Linked DNA regions of Homo sapiens: region 2 is linked to region 1. The links are contacts of gene promoters, found by promoter capture Hi-C in blood cells and fetal thymus (Javierre and others, 2016). All regions are on one chromosome and are shown on one strand. The core of a region is centred on a gene start or on the middle of the fragment in contact, and the rest is flanking DNA. Distances in the headings are between cores, read along the strand shown. Region 1 holds the start of BCORL1 (BCL6 corepressor like 1). Region 2 overlaps ELF4 (E74 like ETS transcription factor 4).

The links. Contacts are between HindIII fragments. The CHiCAGO score rates a contact against its expected background, and 5 or more counts as called.
Region 2: a contact is called between a fragment that was not itself captured here and the fragment with the promoter of BCORL1 in region 1, in 11 of 17 cell types (non-activated CD4 T cells, activated CD4 T cells, total B cells and 8 more). The highest score is 11.1, in non-activated CD4 T cells.

The regions. Positions count from the first base shown.
Region 1 is chrX:129,979,787-129,984,291 of GRCh38, reverse strand. It overlaps BCORL1 (BCL6 corepressor like 1), which reads right to left and starts at 1,657. Exons shown (of 14, transcript NM_001379451.1): 1 at 1,530-1,657. RefSeq lists silencers at 592-828, 4,169-4,238. The HindIII fragment of the contact is 8,398 bases long and covers 1-4,505 here.
Region 2 is chrX:130,059,629-130,064,071 of GRCh38, reverse strand. It overlaps ELF4 (E74 like ETS transcription factor 4), which reads left to right. Exons shown (of 9, transcript NM_001421.4): 9 at 1-117. Among named protein-coding and RNA genes, the nearest start is that of ELF4, 49 kb to the left of the region's middle. RefSeq lists silencers at 3,174-3,243, 3,264-3,563, 3,584-3,843. The HindIII fragment of the contact is 4,596 bases long and covers 559-4,443 here.

The DNA.
Region 1 (4,505 bases), core at 408-2,907:
CTCTGCCCCGGCACGGGACTCTCTTTGGCCTCCGTTCCCCGCCCAGAAGCGGCGGCGGCGGCGGCGGCAACGGCTGCGGCGGCCCCAGCAGGAGCAGCAGCGGCGGCGGCGGCAGCGGCGGCGGCAGCAGCGCCGCCCCCGGCCCCGCCCCGCCGCCCGCCGGAGCCCCACGCCCCGCCCGCCCGCCCCGCCGCCGGACTGCTCCCCCCGAAGCCCACCACTAAGCCCTCCCACTCCCCGGCCGCGATCCGCTCGAATCCAGCTCCGCTGGGCCTGCTGTCCGTCCCTCACGCCCCTTAGGACCCGGGGTGGGGGAGCCCTGGGGTTCGCGGCCATCCCTCTCCCTCCTTCTCCAAGGGCCGGGGGATTGCCCCTGATCCCGAAACCCGGCCCCGTAACCGGAGCCTCCCTCCTTCCAGCCCTCGGCTTCGCTCGCCGACCCCTTGCCTCCAGGCCTGGCGCGAAGCGGGTGGAGGGCTTGCACGCCGGATCTCCCCTCTGGCTTGCCGGTGCTAGTATGAATTGCCCCCGATCTCATCTTCCTTCAATTTAAGCCCCCTCCCCGCCGCGCCCGGCCCGGCGGCCCCCGCCCCTAGAGCGAGGGCAGCGGAGCCAGGGCGCTCCGAAGTCATCCCCCGCCTTTTTTCCAGGGACTCGGATAATTGCCCCTGCCCCCATCACAGCACTCCCACTCCCGAACCCAGGCCCCGCCGCCACCTAGGGGTACCCCTTACCCTACGATTCCCGCACCCCAGCGCCGGGAAGAAAGCAGCCCTGAAGAGCACCCGTCGCACCTCCCCTCTGAGGTTGGAGGGCATTTTCTCCCGGTCTCTTCAACACTTCATCACGGACACCCCCCCCCCCCAAAAAAAAGCCTTTTCTCGCCCTGCCCTGCTAGCCAGCCTCCCTTCGGATCGTCGGATCCTTGGATCGGGGGTTGGAGTCAGGTAGTTAACAAGACCATAGCCTCCACCTCCCTTTCCGAGGAGTGGGGTAATTCCTATGGTTTCCCCCCCAGGATCAACCGACCCCCGTTTCCATGGAGACCCCCGCCCAGCCGGGAAGAAGACTCTCTTGGATCGTGGCGAACGAGTCTCACCTGGCTAAGAGAGAAGGGGGTCGAGAAGGGGGTAGGGCAAGTCAGGGGATGGGGTACGAAGGTGGGAAGTGGAAGGGAGCTGTCCCGAAGGGAGGGGCGAAGACATACCCAGCTCCAGGGAGCGCTACGTCCGGGGACACGAAGAGGACGGCGCCCCCGGGGGGCAAGCCGAGCGGCCGCAGGGAAAAGAAGGAACAGGGTTGGAGAAAGGCTTAAGATAGAAAGAAGCGGGTGGGGGGATACGAAAAAGCCGGGGAGTCAAAAGGGGTGGAGGGATTGGGGGAGAGAGAAAAAAGACGCACCTGTTCCCGGGTCGGCTCCGCGGGGAGGCTCAGGCCGCCACCCGGGCTCCCTCTTACTCCCTCTTAACCGCCACCCGCCTAATACTGCCCCGATCTGATGCCCCCCTCCGCCCCTTATCGCCACCGACCTCCTTCTCCTCTCTCTCGGCGGCGGCGGCGGTCGGACTCTAGGAACTGAGAGGAAGAAGGGAGGGCTCAGCAAAGCGGAGGAGAGACAGAGCCACACACTGGCAGCAGCCGCGGCGAGCGAAAGAGTGAGGGGGAGAGCGGTGTGTGTGTGTGTCTGTGTGCGAGCGAAGCCTGGTGGAGTGGGTGCCGGTCGCAGGGCTCGACGGGAAGTGGAGTCCGGCTGGGTCCGCGGGCGGCGCCAACCCCCGCTCCACCGGACTACAACTCCCAGAATGCGGCCTACGCGGGTGGGGGGGAATGGGGAGGAGGAGGCGAAGGGAGGGAGCGAGCAAGAGAGGGAGGGACGAAAGCAGGGAGCAAGCGGCGGCGAAGGGGGCAGAGCCAAGCAGCCCCGGTGACACTGGGAGGGGAGGAGAGGAGGAGGGGATCGCTGAGAGGACCGAGCGGATTCCGGAGAGGGAGGCAGCAGTGGCTGCAGCAAGCCGGGCAAAAAGCTAGACTCCTGGGAGAGGCGGAGGCGCTCAATCTGCGGGGCTGCAGGAGCCCCACGTCCCCCCCCACCTCGACGCCCCTCGAAGGGGGAGGTTGAGGAAGGGAGAGGGTCAGTGAGCCGCGGCCAAAGGGTTCTCTCTCTTTCTTCCAACGTTCTCCACCTTATGCCCCGACCTGACTTTCTCAGGCCACTGGTGCCGATCCAGTGTGCAAATCTCGAGACCCCAGATCTCCTCTGCCGGGCAGCGGAGAACAGACGCATTCAGTCCCCTTCTCCCAGGGGCCTGAGGGAGGCTCCCCTTGCAGGCAGGGCGTGACTCCCCCTTCTTCCCGCTCCCCCCCCCACCGTCGTCGCCACCCCCCCATCTCCCTCCCCGGAACCCCTCCCCTGAAGCCGGGGCTCGCCTCTCTCTCTCCCCGCCAAGACACGGAGTCCTTCTGGGGACGACTACCCAGCCCCCTCCCTTATACTGGGCCCCTACCCACCAGTATCCCCTTCTTAGCGTTGCCCCCTCACCGAAATAATGGTGGGGGCGACCCGAGTTGGACTGGTGGCTACTTTCCCTCCAAGGCTAGCCGTCCTTCGCCACGCCGACCCTGTGTAGAAATAGAGAAGCATATTAATACTCCCGTCCCCCCTCCCCCCCAGATTTGAATACCCGTGGAAGTGGCTCACAAGAAAGAGGGGTTGGTAGTGGAAGTGAGCTAGGGGTGAATCCCAATCTTCAAACCTCATCCCTCCCATGGAAATCCAGGTATTCGCCTTTTGCTTAAAAGCCATTAAATCGCTTGGGTGGGGGGTAAATTATCTAAACCCCAATGTCCATGCGACTCGAAGCGACGCTACCTTGTAGGAATAAGATACGAACTAGGTTGCCGCCACGGGAAGGAAAGTATCCCCCACCCCCGTCGCCGTCCACCCCCAAAAACACATACCCCTAGGAGAGTCAGATGGCTGAAGAAGGGGGAAGGCGGTGGGAGTGCTGGAGAGTAAAAGGACTGTGGCGGGGAGGGTCCGCGGCCCCCACTACGAGAGCAGAATCCAGATGCTAAGAGGTGGGTGGGGGGTGCGGCACAATCGCAGACTGTGTCTTTCCTCGCTTTTCCCGGAATCGCCGCCCGATCACCGTCTAACACTCGGAGTTGCTTACCACTCAGTCCCCTAGCCCCATTTGTGCGCGTGAGGCGGCCAGAGCCCGGGAAGCCCGGGCACAAACTCCGCGGAAGCTGGCCTTCGCTGCCGCCGCGCCGCCGCGGGCCTCCCTCCCTCCGCTCGCGGCCCCGCCGATCTACCTTCGCCCCCGGCCGAGGCCAGACCCCGCTCACAACTCCACGCCCCTACTCCACCCCCGGCTCTCCCTCCCCTCGCCCTCTCCCTGCGGGTCCGGCCCAGCCCCTAGCGCCGCCCCGCCCTACCGCTCGGTCCAGAGCCCAGCAAGTGCCCCGAACTCGCCCCCCGCCCCCACGCCCAGGCCAGTCTGGCCAGGCCTGGTTTCCCCCTCCCGCCGCGCCCCGCCCCCGAATCCACGTCCTACTTCGCCACCCAACTCGGCCCGGTCGGGGTTCGGCCCGCGCCCACGCCACCGGAGTCCCCGATTCGGTCCGGTGTACGGCCACCCACCCCGCCCTTGCCTGGGTGCTGGCCTGGCCCGCTGCCTGCGCCCGCCGAGCCGGCCCAAGCGCGCGGTCCGGGTCCGGGTCCAGGTGCCGGCCTCGGTCCCGGCAGTGTTGCCGCGACTCGCCACGCGGGCTCGTTCCACGCAAGATCGGAACCCACGCGGGGTGGGGGCCGCGGGAAGCAAGTTTCTTTATCCTCCCCCCGCCCCCGCCGCAGGGCCGCACCGTTCCCCCACCACCCCCGCCTCACGGCGCCCCCTTTACCTGGGCAGAGCCCCCGGCCGCTGTCGCAACTTTGCTCTTCTCCACGCCGCCGGGGAAGCGGGCGAAGCGGGAGGAGGGAGGTGGCGGGGGGTGCTGGGATCAGGCTGCTGGGCTCAGGGAGGACACGTGGGGGAGGAGGGGAAGGAGGAGGAGGAAGGGGGGGCGGGCCTGCAGTTCTCGGGGCTCCCCCTGCCAGTCCCGGGGAAGCCGGAACCTCGCCGGGCAGCCGCAGACCCCGCACTGGCCACGGGGGAAGAACGGAGCCACCTTCCTCGGCCAGCCCCTGGCTCCAGGAAGGGGGGGGTCGAGCAACGCGCCGTTCGGGTCGGAGAGCGAAAGATTTCGCTCCTGCTCTGTGTGACTCTCATCCCCGTTTTAGCCTCAGTGTATGTTGTGGGGGGGCAAAGGGTCTTGCATGCGGTGGGGGAGACCTCCCCGCCGGATGCCCCGCCCCTCCCCCGGCCCCCCACTTCCCCACCCTGGGCGACCTCAGTGCGTGGTTCTGGCGCTCAAGCTCCGAGGCCGCCCGCGGGCGCAGCCCCAGCCCCGGCGCCGAAGTGGGACAGGTGCTGGGGAAAGGAAAATGCCAGGGCTCGCCGCCT
Region 2 (4,443 bases), core at 1,607-4,106, 79 kb before region 1:
ACATGTATACCTATGTAACAAACCTGCACGTTCTGCACATGTATCCCAGAACTTAAAGTATAATAATAATAATAATAATAATAATAATAATAATAATAAAAATCAAGCAAACAAAAAGGCCGTCACGACTTGCCTATTTCTGTTAATGGTGCCACTGTTTTCCTGACCTCTTAAATTTGAAATTTCAGAGCTGTCTGATCGTTGCCTTCACTTCACCCCCATCCCCCTCTCCCGTCTCCCGAAGTCCAGCTTGTGGTTTGCAATGTCCGTAAAACCTCGCCTTTCTTCCACATTCCCAGAAGCCTCCACCCTAGTTCAAACTACCCAAGACACACAGGGGCTCCCAGCGTGATCTGTCTCAACCCCTCCCATTTGCCCTTTGATAAAAAGCCCTCACTGACTCCTCCTGGCCTACAGGTAGGGGTGATACTCAAAATACTTAATCTCTAATCCTTTCTAAACTTAGCCCTTTCGTTGCTGAAGCCAGTCCAGGGGTCCTGGAATAGGGATGGGGGAGCACTTGGGCTCAGGGCAGTAGCTCCGGAAGTATTTTAAGCTTAGCATCAGCCCTGTCTTCAGGACAAAGCCCCAAGTCCTTGGCCTGCCATCAAGACCCTTCACCTTTGGGTCTTAACTGACTTCCCCAGTCAACTCACCCTGCTCCTTCTGCCACCACTCATACCCCAAGGCACTGCTCCAGTCAAACTGATGGATTTGCTGGCCTGTGAACATGCCTCTGTTTACAATTTCCAAACTCTGTGCTTTTGCTCTTATTATCTACTACATATATTCTAAGCATTTTAAACCTGGAAACCAAGATCCTCCATTTATCTTTTACCTGCTCTAGGCAATACAGACAAACTCAACATTATTTACACACTCCTGTGTTTTCTTAATGAATATTCTTCCCTTCTATGTATCTTTTCCTTTAGAAATACAATCCATTGGCCATGCGCGGTGGCTCATGCCTGTAATCCGAGCACTTTGTGAGGCCGAGGCAGGCAGATCACGAGGTCAAGAGATCGAGATCATCCTGGCCAACATGGTGAAACCCCGTCTCCACTAAAAATACAAAAATTAGCTGGGCATGGTGGTGTGTGCCTGTAGTCCCAGCTACTCGGGAGGCTGAGGCAGGAGAAACACTTCAACCCGGGAGGCAGAGGTTGCAATGAGCCGAGATCGCGCCACTGCACTCCAGCCTGGCGACAGAGTGAGACTCCATCTTGAAAAAAAAAAAAAAAAAAAAAAGAAACGAAAAGGAAAGAAAGAAAATCCATCCACAGCCAGGCACAGTGGCTCACGCCTGTGATCCCAGCACTTTGGGAAGCTGAGGTGGGCGGATCACCTGAGGTCAGGAGTTGGAGACCAACATGGCCAATATGGCGAAACCCCATCTCTACTAAAAATACAAAAATTAACCGGGCTTGGTGGCACGCACCTATAATCCCAGCTACTGGGGAGGCTGAGGCAGAGAATCCCTTGAACCTGGAGGTGGAATTTGCAGTGAGTCGAGATTGTACCTGGGTGATCAAAGCAAGACTGTCTCAAAAAAAAAAAAAAAAAAAAAGAAAAGAAAAAAAGTACAATCCATCCTTCAAGATCTGATTGGTTCCACTCAATCAGAATGTCCTTCCTATCCTGCTAGTACCAATTAAATTGTGTCCCTCCTTCAAGACTCGATTCATGGACTCTGCCTCCCCAGACCAGTCTGTCCTAAGTGAGTTATTTAAAACTTATTGCAATTGCCACTCTTTCAGCAACTGATCATGAACACCCTGTGACATCTATTATAATGCAAACTGTTACTTAAATCTTCAATGACCTGTACCTATTTAGTGTCCCCAATTAGCACATTACCTCCTTGAGGAGTGGGAGGGACTGTATCAACCACGTAACATGGCACAGTACAAAGGATCAAGGTAATGGTTACTGATGGAGCCGGTGGGAGATGGGGACCAAACTTTGAGGTAGGTGACCTCTGACCTCCCCTCTGCACAGGCACTCACCCCAGGTGCTCCACTGCTCTGGGCCTGCCCTCCCTGGCTCAGTGCCCTCATGGTATCCCCAACCCCACCCCCCCATCTTAGCACTCAAAATTTGTTACTATTTTGAACATCCTCTACCCCTAAAGCAACTTCCCTGTCCAGTTTCTTTCCTACTCCAAGTGTGAAACTAGCTAAACCAATTAACCTGTGCTGATACAGTTATGGGAGAGGGCTAGAGGAGAACCTCAGGAGACAGGTTCATTTTAACCAGAGTCATGTGGCAGTAAGTCTCTGCCTTTTCTTGGTTTAATGGAGTCAGGAGTCAAGAGATGACCCTCATCTCCCAGCAGCTGATATGTTACTCCCTCCTCTGGGTTCCCACAGCACTTTGTTTTCTTTATTTTTTTGAGATAGAGTCTCCCTCCGTTGCCCAGGCTGGAGCGCAGTGGTGCGATCTTGGGTCACTGCAGCCTCTGCCTCCCGAGTTCAAGCGGTTCTCCTGCCTCAGCCTCCCAAGTAGCTGTGACTACAGCTGCGTGCCACCACGCCCGGCTAATTTTTGTATTTTTAGTAGAGAACGGGTTTCACCATGTTAGCCAGGCTGGTCTCGAACTCTTGACCTCAAGTGATCCGCCCACCTCAGCCTCCCAAGGTGCTGGGATTACAGCCCTGAGCCACCTCACAGCACTTTGTAAATACCTCTTATGGTAGCACTTAGCACAGTACAGTTCTTTAATTACGTGTTTATGTAGGGTTCCCCGCCAATAGGCTGTGAGCTCCTCAAGGACAGGGACTGTGTGTTAGTCACTGATATATCCCTAGTGCCTAGCACACAGTAGGTTCTTAATAAATGCTTATTGAAAGAAGGAACTGGTCCTGATTTTAATTCTGAGACTTCTGCCCTATGCTATGGCAGGCAAGAGGAGAGGGAGGAGGACAATCCACACTTGGGAGCTAAGGCAGCTTTCTGCCCGCTCCTATAACACTGCAGGCGGCTACTTCCTTTGCCCCTGGAGTGTTAACAGACATCCCCGGATCACAGGGTCCATGAGGAGCCCAGGGCTGCTTGCCAGCTGTGCGTTGCTGTCACCAGGTGCCACGTGCAACTCCCGAACTCCCGCCCTTTGCTGCTGCCCGCTTCCAGGGACTGCCTCGCCACTATTTCCTCACCCCTGGGTGGGGCTGTGCGGTGGAAGTGTCAGCTCCGGTGGGTGGGGCGGGACAAGAAGTTATTCTGACGGTCACAGGCCTTTCTGATCCCATCTTGTACTCCAAAAGAGGCAGTTGCCTCCAGCTCTGAAGCCGCTGGACCTGGGGTGAGTGAGCTCCTTCCCCTCCCAGACTGAGGTCCCAGCCTCCGAGAACTTCGGGCCCCGGCGCGCCGGACGTGGAGGCCGACGTCCAGCAGGTGGCGCTGTCGAGCCAGCGATGGCGGGAGAGTGGCCCGGCGGGGCCCGGGAAGGGAGGGGCAGCCAGGGTTGGGCCTACCGTCCCTGGCGGAGGCGGCCGCGGCCGCGGCTGGCGTCTTCCGGTCCCCCGATCTTGCCCCTGCGCCTGCAACTGTCCCCGGATGGTTCTGGCCGCCACCAAAGCCCTCCGCTGCTCCGGAGCTTCGAACTTTCCCCTCGACCCCAGCCCCCTTCACTTTCCAGGGGGAATTTAGCCGGCCGCCGAATGCGCTCCCCCATTGGCCAGCCGCGCTCTGGCCCCGCCCCCGGCGCCCCCTCCCTCAGCCTCGCGGACCAGCAGGTGAGCACGCGGAGTCGCAGTCACCCGGCCTGCCCTCCCCTCCCCTCGCGCGCCGCCGCCTTCTACCGTGAAGCGGGAGAGCGATCGAGGCGCCCCAGACAGCCGTTTGCTAGCGGAGGGACCTGACCGTCCGCCGCACGAGCCCGGCTCCCAAGGACCGGCGCGGGGCCTAAAGACGTCGCCCCCAGAGGCCGGACGCTGCGGCTCGGCCGACCCCCGCGCGGTGGCAGCCGGAGCGCTAGGGAAACGAGTGGAGCCCCGGCCCGGATCCTGCTGCGGGATCCAGAAGGCCCGAGCACTTCGCGTCCCCCTGCCCAGCAGTTGAGCAGACGCCCCTGGGGCGGACCCCACCCTTCCCAAACACACACACACTGGTCTTTGCATGGGCAGGACACAGTTAAACACCCACCAGGCCTCCCGGTTATTGGGTTAGAGTATGGACCGAGCAGGAGTTTACTGCCCCATTCACCACCGCCCCCAACCCCACCTACCCCAAATAGGGATGCGGAGACTATCCCTCCTCCCACCAAGACTTGAACAGAGCCTCTCTTTCAAGCCCAAAGAGCGTTCTGATAAGACCCTCATTAACCATAGGTTCGTGAGCTCGGCATGAAGGAGGAACTAATTTTGGCTAAACAGATCTTTATGGTCCTCAGTGTGATGCTCTGTCAGTAGGTGGGTACATTGGCCTCCATTTGGCTGATGGAGC